Linked DNA regions of Homo sapiens: all the other regions are linked to region 3. The links are contacts of gene promoters, found by promoter capture Hi-C in human tissues and cell types (Jung and others, 2019). All regions are on one chromosome and are shown on one strand. The core of a region is centred on a gene start or on the middle of the fragment in contact, and the rest is flanking DNA. Distances in the headings are between cores, read along the strand shown.

Evidence for each region. Contacts are between HindIII fragments. The study calls those that stand out against the background at their distance.
Region 1: a contact is called between a fragment that was not itself captured here and the fragment with the promoter of CLN5 in region 3, in 1 of the 25 tissues and cell types used here (mesenchymal stem cells).
Region 2: a fragment that was not itself captured here is called in contact with the fragment with the promoter of CLN5 in region 3 in 2 of the 25 tissues and cell types used here (dorsolateral prefrontal cortex and lymphoblastoid cells).

The regions. Positions count from the first base shown.
Region 1 is chr13:76,638,460-76,642,410 of GRCh38, forward strand. No RefSeq gene overlaps it. Among named protein-coding and RNA genes, the nearest start is that of KCTD12, 250 kb to the right of the region's middle. The HindIII fragment of the contact is 9,343 bases long and covers 1-3,951 here.
Region 2 is chr13:77,287,228-77,290,947 of GRCh38, forward strand. MYCBP2 (MYC binding protein 2) reads right to left here. Exons shown (of 83, transcript NM_015057.5): 3 at 934-1,149. All of the region lies in intron 2 of LOC124903184 (a long non-coding RNA gene), which reads left to right. Among named protein-coding and RNA genes, the nearest start is that of MYCBP2, 38 kb to the right of the region's middle. The HindIII fragment of the contact is 3,391 bases long and covers 1-3,115 here.
Region 3 is chr13:76,990,692-76,994,349 of GRCh38, forward strand. It overlaps CLN5 (CLN5 lysosomal BMP synthase), which reads left to right and starts at 1,390. Exons shown (of 4, transcript NM_006493.4): 1 at 1,390-1,580. The coding sequence starts at 1,408. RefSeq lists silencers at 724-813, 904-973, 1,434-1,673 and an enhancer at 1,695-2,894. The HindIII fragment of the contact is 12,191 bases long and covers 1-3,658 here.

The sequences.
Region 1 (3,951 bases), core at 428-2,927, 350 kb before region 3:
AAAGAGAAACCAGAGCGTCCCCTGACCAGGTTCTTTCCCCCCTTCCCTTGTTCAAATCCCCAGATACTTATGGCTCTCCCCAGACTGCACTGTTACATCTGACACCTGCAAAATCTGCGCCGTACCCTCAGCTGGAGGCCTCTGCTAAGGTCAAGCCATGGACCTCATTGAAGAGTATAGATTCTCTGTTCAAGATAAAGTTCTTGCCTATTCTGACTCAATAAAACTTCATTGATTTGCCTAAATCCCACCTCCCTAAATTGAGGAAAGGCTTGGTCTTATAATAAGAGGAAATGGAGCACTTCTCATATCCCAAAAATTTGTCTCCTTGTCCCTAGCTTACCAATAATATTAACCTACCTAAGCGTGTGTGCCTGAAAGGAGATGGCCAGGATGAAGGTATGGAACAGAAGTCAAAAGGAGCCTCTGGCAGGTGTGTTTGACATGGTGCAGGAGAGGTGGGTGCTGTTCACCAGACTGTTTCAGAGGAAGTGGCAACTCATCAGCTCTTGTAGGGAAGGGAGTCACAGGGAATCACCCTCCTCACTTCCAGCCTACCTTCTTCTATCCTTCCTCTCTCTTCAGACTCACGAGGTACTCTGGTGACTGGACTGGCTTCCCAAGAATCACCAGAAAGGAATGCCTTCCTCCCAGAGCTTTAATTTCTGCTTCTAGTTTCCATGACTGACCGATGGTGTTGTGACTGGTGTCAGTTCATCTCTGAGATCGTGATGTGTCTAGAAGTACTGATAATGCTGAGGTCTTGGAGCTGTGGGAATGAAAACTGAATATCCTGTCTCACTTAAATATATTTACCAAGGTTAGGTGGCCTTAAAGACAAGAAGCCTATTGATGAAAAGCCAATGACACGTTGGCCTCTCAGAACAAACACTTCCCTTCAAAGGTCACCAAATAACACCAAATATAAACTTTAACTAATCAACCTCTTCCAATCCCTTCTTTCCTTGCTTTATCCTTTAACTCTCCAGGTTACTCACCATTCCACTAACATGCCAAGAACATGCACATCCCTACCCCTTTCTAAAACTGTTACTGCTCTCTAGAATTCCTTATGACTGACAGTCTCCAGGAAGTAATGGGGAACAGAACTTTTGAGGAGAGCTTCCATAATGCCTAGTCCAAATGGGTGGAAGGAAGGTGGTACCATTAAGTGAAGTGAGATATAGACAGGGTGAGGGGCAGATCTGGGAGGCAGCAAAGCATGGTGGGGATAATTGGTTCAGGGCCCTGTGGTCTTTAAAGTATCTATGAAATATTTCAGAAAAGATATATGCAGCAAATAGCCCAGGCAGAGGTTGGAAATGGTGACTGATACATGAGAACCATTAAAATAAAGCTGTGATTGATGAAAAGATTTCCAAAGGAATAAGAGTAGAAAAAAATAAATAAGAATGAGGACAGAGGCTTAACATACAAAAATAGGGCACAAAAATGTAAGCAGCATAACAAAATCCACTCAAGAAAACAGACAAACAGGAGAACCAGACTTCCCAGTCACAGAAGCCAATGGGGTATCCAAAAAGTAGAATCAACAGTTTGAAGAAATACCAAGACCGTAAGCAACAGAAGAACTGAAAAAAAATTACTAGACAGGAGAATTTAGAGATAGAGGAAAACTTGAGTAGGATGCAGCATAGTTAACTGTGGAGCAGAACTGCCTGGGTTTGCATCCTGCCACATCCTTGCTAGCTGTGCCAACCTGGGCCAGTTCTTTACTCTACCTCTGCCTTAGTGCCTCATCTGTAAAATGGAGATTATGATAGTGCCTATTTCAGAGAGTTGGCATGAGGATCCTGTGAGTTACCATATTTAAAGTACTGATACCACCACCTGACACAAGCTCTATGTGACTATTTGCTGCTATTATTTAATATTATGACATTTCAAGGAACCACAATATATATTGTGGTTATATATATTATACTCTAAAAAGAGTTTCAATAAACTGAAGGAAAGAGATAGAGCACTATCTTTAATAGGAAGATAAGCACAGCCATTTTTCCTTTTGACTTTCTCCCACATCAATACTAAGTGTGGGAGGAAGAAATATCAAATTCAGGGATAGTTGCAGCATAAATACTAGTAACACTGAAACCACAGCTCTTGTCAGATACTGGAAAACTTCAAAGTCCTTACAGATACTTCTACTGTATCTGAAAACATGGAGTAAACATCCATCTGTCTGATGGTACATTAGATACCATCAGGTACATTTTTTTAATGTACTTAAAGTACTTTTTAAAAATTTCTTCCAACTCTGTGATTATGTAATTTGGTAAATCAAGTATCTATCAATTTTAATCTTTAACTTCATCATCCATAACATGGCTTTCAGAAGTAAATATTGCATCAAAATAAACTTATGAAGTAATTTACTCTTTCCAAGGAAACATTACAGAATAATCTACACACCACATGTCATTACTTTAAGAACAAATTATGCTTCCCCAGATAATTTTGCTTTAACTCTGGCCATCAATCACCTTATAATTAGTAAAGAAAGTGGTTCTTCTCCCTAATTATGTAAATTCTTTCATCTATAAATAAAAAGTAGAAAATAAAGGAAGGATTTATTATAAGGAATATAAGGTACTTTTTTAAATTAAAAAATGAGTGTAGTTTTTAGTTTTCTCAGCATTTAGGATCATTCTGTTGGTATGGTATTCCACTGTATTCTTATTTCATAGCCTCACAAAGCTTCCATTCACATCAAAAGTATGCTCAAGACCCTAATCTTGACCATGAAAGTTCTCTTTGTCTTTACGATTACAGCTGGTAGAGCTTAGCTGGCCATCTGTTACCAATTATTCTATTTAGCATCATAGACTATATTGGCCTCCTCCACAAAGCCTTTCAAGCAAGGTTTAGTTGGAAATTTTTGTTTCTCCTTTCATTTTGAAGGAAAAAACTAAGTTAACAGAAGTTTTTTTTTTTTGCAAGACAATTAATAAATTATATTTAGAAAGTAAAACAACCAGGACTGTCACAAACAAGTTACCAATTGAACACCGCATTCCAGTTTGTGCCCAGTTAGGTGTGCTAGGTACTGCAAAGTTGTGGTTTGCCAATTTTTCTATGTCATGCTCCACCTGCCATCCTATCAAACAATCTTAGTGTCTCCATGGCTTTCTTTTTAAAGTACATGTTTGGACTTCTAAAAATTTGTGTCAAATTTTAATAACTTAAATAAGTTGAGCAGTAGATGAATCTGCTGTTTGATAACCTCTAATGTAAGGAAAATAAAAACTGTAAGAGTGAAGTCCCTGTTTGTAAGAATATAGGCTTAACTTGGGAAGGAAAACTAACAAAGATGGAATGATTAGATTATCAGCAAAGTATGAAGCAGTGGGAAACTGTCCATAAATGCAATGAGAGTGGAAAAAAGGGAGGTCAACCATGAGCAGAAGTAAACATTCACCTTATTGGAAAGGAATTAAGGATGAGAAGAAGGGCTTTCTATGGTAGGAAAACAACTTGAGAGGAAAATCCCGGCAATATTTTTGCCAAGAGAGGGCCCAAACAGGAGCCTCGGAAGATTTCCAGGAACTAGTTCAAGCAACATCCTTTAAATGGGTCACTTTCAGTCCACAAACTTCTTTTCGTCTAGAACAGTAGAGTTTAATTTACAATTTGGTATGTCATGTCATTTTATAGCTCTACCAAATTTATAAATTAAACAAGACATTTCTCATATGGGCAACCTAAAAAAAGAAAACTTAAAAACGTTTGTCCTCCTTAAAAGGAAATCCAGGTTCTTTCGTTGTTCATTATGTACGATTGCAGTCTATTTTCAAAAAATGTTTATGCTTCAGGTTTTATTTTCCTGGCATTATGCTGCACGTAATACCAAGCCCTGCATGGCTTCAAGGAAAAGCTGCTTCACAGCCTCCCTGGCCAGGGGTAAGAGAAGATTCTGCCTGCATAGTCTGG
Region 2 (3,720 bases), core at 170-2,669, 300 kb after region 3:
CAGGCCGGAGTGCAATGGCATGATCTCGGCTCACTGCAACCTCCGCCTCCTGGGTTCAAGCAATTTTCCTGCCTCAGCCTCTGAGTAGCTGGGATTATAGGCGACTGCCACAATGCCGGGCTAATTTTTGTATTTTTAGTAGAGACAGGGTTTCACCATGTTGGCCAGGCTGTTCTCAAACTCCTGACCTCAGGTGATCCACCCGCCTTGGCCTCCCAAAGTGCTGGGATTACAGGTGTGAGAGCCACTGCGCCCGGCCTACAATACATGCTTCTATTATAGAAATACCAACTAGTTTATATGCTCCTGGTAAATAAGGGAGTAATATCAGAATAATGCAGAAGTTCAGTTGGTTCATAGGTGATTTTTTTTTTTCCTAATCAAGGGAAACCACAATATCAAGAGTACAATTATAAGCTTAGGCAGAAAGGAAAAGGCTCTCAGCCCTGCTACTACACAGCTGAGAGGCTTTGTAGTTCTATTTCAAGAAAAATAAAAACGCATACCTGCATCCCAGGTGAGGAGCACCTCCCAGCTTTCCAGGGCTCTTGGCTTTCTCTTGTGCCCACCTTACTCTCGGCTCACTGGCTCAGAGCTCTACTTCCATCTGCCATGGCTCAATGCCTCTATACTAGCATTTCCACCCTACTGCTTTTGTACATTTTTTAATTGCCCCTATAACAGACTCCAACCCACTGATCTCCCTTCCTGCGCTTTCCAGTGAATTATCAATTATTGACTTTGTTAGCACCTTAGTTATAAAGTTGCAGAGTTTTCCTTTTCTGCTCCAAATCTATTTTTGCCCATAAGCCGTGTTATTTTTAGTGTGCAATTTTACATAAAGCAAAGTATTTTAGCAATGCGTATATATGCATTATAGCCAGAACACCTGCAGGTTACACATCTAAATATTAATAGAACTCAGTGGCTTACCTTTGGAAGCTTGATAGGGGGCTCTTTGGATTCCTCTTCTTCATCACTATCTGATTCTCCACTCTGCACAGAGTTCTTAGATGCGGCTGCCAATGATATTTCCTTTTTCTGCCATTCCAGAACGCAATGGCGTACATTACAGTAAATATTGAAAGCAGAAGGATTGCTATGTAGTTTGATATCTGGTATGATTACTGTATTCTCTAAGTTTTCAGACTGAAATACAAAACAGAATATTTCCATTTCACACTCTTTTCTATCATCAAGTCCCATTTTACATAAAAGTAAAGATTAGACACACTAACTGACTTGCAGAAGACACATTATGTGACACAGCAGAGACAGTCTAAGTCTATGGACCCAACTTCTAGTCCCCTTTTCTATACCTCACTATTTTTTGAGCAATGCAGCAATAACCAACCAATCTGACAAGGGCTGGAAAAGGATGGGCAAAAAACTTAGAAATATTCTTGTATCGCCATGACAGGAATAGACTCAACAAAGCTTAACTCTTAGAGTTCTGTATCAAAGGAAATTCATTTTACGACTTCCTAAGAGACTCTAGACACACTGTAGAGTCTCAATGACCTACTACAAACATTAGATTGCATTTTGAATGCTTTTAAAAGTAGATATAGAAGTTTACACAGAAATGAGGGCCTCCCAAAAAAACACTTAATTTTCATCAGCTCATTTCATTCTCATTCAAGTAACAGTAATGCCAAGTAAACTGTAGATGCTTCCCTAAGCTCTCTCTCACCTATCAGTATTGATAAAGGCTAAAAATCATGTGATTGGTAATTTGTTAAGACTAAACAGTTTCTCTTTTATGCCCAATATTTTATTCATCAGACAGCAACTACAATTTCAAGATCAACATTTATATTATAAATATAAAAAGCTGTTTTAAAATATTTTAGAAATTCAACTTCCAATAATTAGAGTATGTCCAGGAAGTATCTAAGATAAACAAAATGATACCTCAAGTACCAAAAACACTTGGTCCCAAATATTCGACTCTTCTTCCATAAAGAATTGGAAAAAAAAAATACACTTGTTAAATAAGAAATACATCAAAAAGTTAAATTGGCATGGCATATAACTTATGAATATATGTATAAGAGATATTACAAATATCTCATCCAAATATCCAGAGATATTACAAGTATTAGCTATTCAAATCCAACAATATATAAAAAAGTAATACATTATGACCAACTGAGGTTTAACCCAGGGACAATGCTGGCACAACACTGGAAAAGCAACCACTGTTGTAACAGAGAAAAAATATATTATACTTCAAATAAACACAGAAAGATCACTTGACAAAAATCCAGTATCGATTCATGATAGAAAAAAAAAAAGTCTAAGTTAGGAATAGAAGGGAATTTTCTCAACTTGATAAAGGGTATCTACAAAATAACCACAGCTAACATGGTAATAGACTGAATGCTTTCCCTCTAAGATTGTGATCCAGGCAAATTGGTCTACTCTCAGCAACTCATCAACATTGTACTGGATATCCTATCTAGTGCAAGGAAAATATCCTATCCAGCCAAGGGAAAAAGGCAAGAAGTATTTTCTAAAAAAGAAATGTTTTTACTTGTAAAAAAACATGTAGAGAATCTTAAGGAATCTGCAAAAAAGTTACCAGAAATAGTATGCAGATTTAACAAAATCACAGGATATAAAATTACTATATAAAAATGAGTAGTATATCCACATACTAGGAATGAACAACTGAAAAAATGTAATTTCAAAAATAATAGCATTGAAGTCACAGACTGGGAGAAAATATTTGCAAACCACATATCCAACAAAGGATGAGTATTCAGAATATATAAAGAATTCTCAAAAGTCAACAGTAAAAACAAACAAGGAATCCAATTAACAAATGGGCAAAAGATAGGAATAAACACATCAATATAGAAGATATTTACACAAAGGGTGAATAAGCACATGAAAAGAATTTCAACATCATTAGCTACTAGGAAAATGCAAATTAAAATGAGATATAGTACACACCTATCAGAATGGCTAAAATAAATAGTGACAACACCAAATGCTGGTGGGGATGAGGAGAAACTTATACATTGCTGATGGTCATGTAAAATGGTACAGCCACTCTGGAAGAAAGTACAGCAATTTCCTACAAAACTAAATATGTGCTTACCATATAATCCAGCAATTATGTTCTTGGACATTTACACCAGAGAAATAAAAACTTATGTTCACACAAAAACCAGTACACGAATGTTCGTAATAGCATTCTTTTAAAATAGTCAAAAGCTAGAAACAACTCAGATATCTTTTAATGGGTAAATGGTTAAACAAACTATAGTACATCCATACCATGAAATGCTTACTCATCAAGGAACAAACAATATGCAACAATGTGTGTGAATCTCAAAGACATTTTGCCAAGTGGGGAAAAAAAGCACCAATCTTAAATGATTACATACTGTACAATTTCACTGGACAACATTCTTAAAATGGCAAAATTATAAATGCTGAACAGATCAGTGGTTGCCAGAAGCTAAGGAGAGGGTGAGGAAGGAAGATACCTGTGGCTATAAAGGATATCACAGAGAATCCTTGTGATGGAACTGCTGTATATCCAGACTGTGGTAAGAGTCACATGGACCTACACATGTGATAAAATTACACAGACTTAGGTGCACACAAACACATACACACTGCATTCATACTGAAATCATCTCAAAGCAAAATAAATTTTCAAAAATAACTGCATTTACAGTAACATCAAAAATATATAATAATTGTAAA
Region 3 (3,658 bases), core at 140-2,639:
TTGCTTTTTAAGCTAGGCTCAAGTGTGGGGCCACGGAATCCTTCAGGTGCCCTTCAAATCAGACATTACATTTCAGCTCTCAGGGCTAGAATGCTTCCCCCTCTTATCTTGGGCAGGTCTTTGAAGAAGCCAGTTTAGCCTTGGTAATTTTGAATTTGGCCATAGTATACGGAGGAGAGCTAGGTAGCTATCAAAACGCTTAGACAAACGTATGGTAAAATGCAGCCCAGCCTGAACCTCCGCAAAACCCCCAAACCTGGAGCAGCAAGTGGGCAAAGGAGTGTGTGTTTGGGGCAGGGTACTGAGTCCCATATGTAATCAAGAGACCTGGAGGGCCCAAGGAAGTCAGTGACACCCCCACAAGCTACATATCCTCCAATGGATTGTGGTGGTCATCTCCGGCTACCGAAGCCACCTTGCTTATTCCCATAGGCTTACAAACATTATGATGCTTCACACGAGTTGTGGGTGAAGTGAAGGAATTGGAAAGTCCCGGTCTAAGGCCCTGCAAAACTGCTGTCTGGTAAAAACAAGTGACTATGGCAAGGCCCTGAATGTACTACGTATAGACTTAAGTCAGTATTTGTGCCTAACAGCAAAGCATGCCACAAGAGGCTCCTCAAAAGCCGGGTAATTGATGCCATTGTTTTCTTGACCTAGTTGAAGAGTCAAAGAAGAGAAGGTGATGCAGAAACTTCTTTCCAGTGAAGTGACAGATCCAAGCAAGGAACACCTGCCTGTGAGGGGAGCGGTAGGGGAGGGGGTAGATTCGGCAGCACTCGGGTAGTGGCAGGGACCACATATTGTCGGTGTTAACCACTGTTATCACTGGCCCAGGTCGAGTGAGGACGAGTCATTTCCCCACTAAGCACTTGGGGAGTGGCAGGGACCACATATTGTCAGTGTTAACCACTGTTATGACTGGCCCAGGTCGGGTGACGACGAGCCATTTCCGCACTATTGTCCCTTCTTCCTCACTGCACCCCCAGCCCTGCACCCTCAGCTCCAAATACACATTCTCGTTCACTCAACGTTTGTTGACACCTAGCGTGGGCCCTGTGGGATGGGGTAAAAGTTCGGTGTTGGGAGGAGCCCCGGTGACAGATTTTTGGTTTTGGTGGTGGCTTTTGGGCAAGGACAGGTCAATTCATAAAAGATGACGCCCCAGGTCTGGATCGAATTCTCCTGGGAGCCAGACCAAAGCACCTTCCTGGACTGCAAAGTGTGGAAGCCGCCGCGGGCCGGGCGCGGGGAGGTGTCATGCGCCGGAACCTGCGCTTGGGGCCAAGCTCTGGAGCTGACGCGCAGGGGCAAGGCGCCCCGCGTCCCGGACTGGCGGCTCCGCGCATGCTCCTCCCACCGGCGTCGCAGGCCTCGAGAGGCTCCGGAAGTACTGGGTGCAGCCTGATGGCGCAGGAGGTAGACACGGCACAGGGCGCCGAGATGCGGCGGGGCGCGGGCGCGGCTCGGGGACGCGCTTCCTGGTGCTGGGCCCTGGCGCTGCTTTGGCTCGCGGTGGTTCCGGGCTGGTCCCGGGTCTCGGGCATCCCCTCCCGGCGCCACTGGCCGGTGCCCTACAAGTGAGTGCGGCGGCGCGCGCACTGTCGGGGTTGGGGTCGGCGTTGACGATGGGGGATGGGGTGCTGGGGCGGGGACCCCTGCTCACCGTGGTTTGTGTCGGGTCACGAGATGGTGCGGGGACAGCGCCGGGTGACGCTCGGAGCGCACTTGAGAGCAAAGTTGAGGACTGGGGAGTCGCAGCCGCTCGTTACGTGCAGCCCTGGGACCTTTCGTCCCCTCTGGTCACTTGCGGCAGACTCAGGACAGTCCTGAATCGTGGAAGAAGAAAAGGAGAGTAATGTTATTTAATGGAGGGACTTCTGGGTACAAGTAGCTGATTTCTTGAGTAGTTTAAAAACACTGTCTATCGCATTTATTTATATCATGCACTGTCGTTAGTTATTACCGCGGAACATTTGGTACAATTTACTGGGCGACCAACTCGCTCTGGTTTGAACCTGATCAGAACCTGATCCGAAGTCCTTATTGGGACTTCCCAGTTTTGCCCTCAAAAGTCGCGCATCCCGGGAATCCCCGTCTCCTGCAGTCCTGGTTAGACCGGGAAGATTGTCACCGCTTTTGTCCAGTCTTCAGCCTGGAGGTAGGACGCCGGTCCTAAGTCGGGGACAGAGCCCGCACACCTGGGAGGTCGATTCCAGCCTTTGACAGAGAAGACACAGCCTCCGGCGGTCAGAGATAGCTAAACACAGAGAAAGAAAACATGGTGTCAACATCAGGCAGGAGAAAGACCAGCAGTTTTTGAAAACAGCTATTTTTCTTTAAACCAAAAGCATCATTGGACATAATTTTAACTTACTAGCATAAGTAATCAACAGCTAAAACTGCACACAACAAACCTGAAAAAAACAGCTATTTTGTATGACAGTATGAGTGGGAAGGAGTTCTGCCTGCTGCGGGTCAAATCTGGCTCTGTCATCACCAGGGATCTTGGGAAAGTTACTCAGAATCTCTGTGCCCACATGCCCTGAGTCAAAAAATAGGAATAGTGGTAGCACGTACCTCATAGGTTTGCTGGAAGGATTAAATCTAGTAAAATGCCAGCTGTTGTCAAACCTAGATAGTGTATTCTGCTCACTGAAATGTTTACAACACTTTTTTGTTTTGTGTGATATACTACGTGGAAAGAGAAGTTTGTGGTTGAAGCTAGTTTTCTGGAAAATGTTAATAATAAAATGTTTGTAAGAAGTCAAAATTACTCAATAGAACAAGAATTGTAAATCCAAACGATTTGATTTAACATTAGGGCAAGGTGTTGACTATGGCTTTTTAGTGGATTTTTTTTTTAAGTCTCAGATATTAAGTACGTGCTCCCATCTAATTCCCTCAATTGAATATAATATTTAAGTTTATTAAGTTCACACTTAAATTACCTTTGAACTAAAATAGATTTTGCTGTGTCAGTGAAATCTCCATGTGATTATGTATTTGTTTAAACCAGGTAAGTGCCTATAAAACACTGTACCCAAGTAGCAGAAACTTTTGGGAGCGTCGTTAATAGTTTCGATTAGCATAAAGATTTTAACTTCTTAAGTTAAAATAGAAATTTTTGTTGATTTGTTAAGATTTGTTAGATCTGGCTACAACCTTGGGGATCTAGGATTCTTAGATAGAAGCTGTTGTCGCCACCACTTCTTTCTTTCCCAGTGCCAGATTATAGGTGACCAGTGTGTCTGTTGAGCTGAATTCAGCTGCAGTGCCCCTCGAGTCCTATTGCTGTGGCCTTCTCCGGTCTTCTTTTCTTGCCTGCATTGTTGAGGTCACCTTCTAACTGATCTCTCATGTTTTATTTGGCCTCTCTCCATACCCTCTTTTAATTCGTGAAATAAGGTTTACTTTATAGCAAATTCAGTCCTGTCAGATCTGCTACTTAACATCCTTTAAGTTTAGCCCTCCCCAATTATAAGGCAGGGAATTCCATGCACATTCTCCTAGTGACAAAATGACAGCCCCTGCCAGTCTCTTCCGTCTCCATTCCTGCGTCGAGGCCTGAAATCCAGTCTTCCGTACCTACCGGAGACCAAATGTGCCAGGCTTGTCTTACAATACTTAACATTTCCTCTGCCTTTCTGTCTTAACC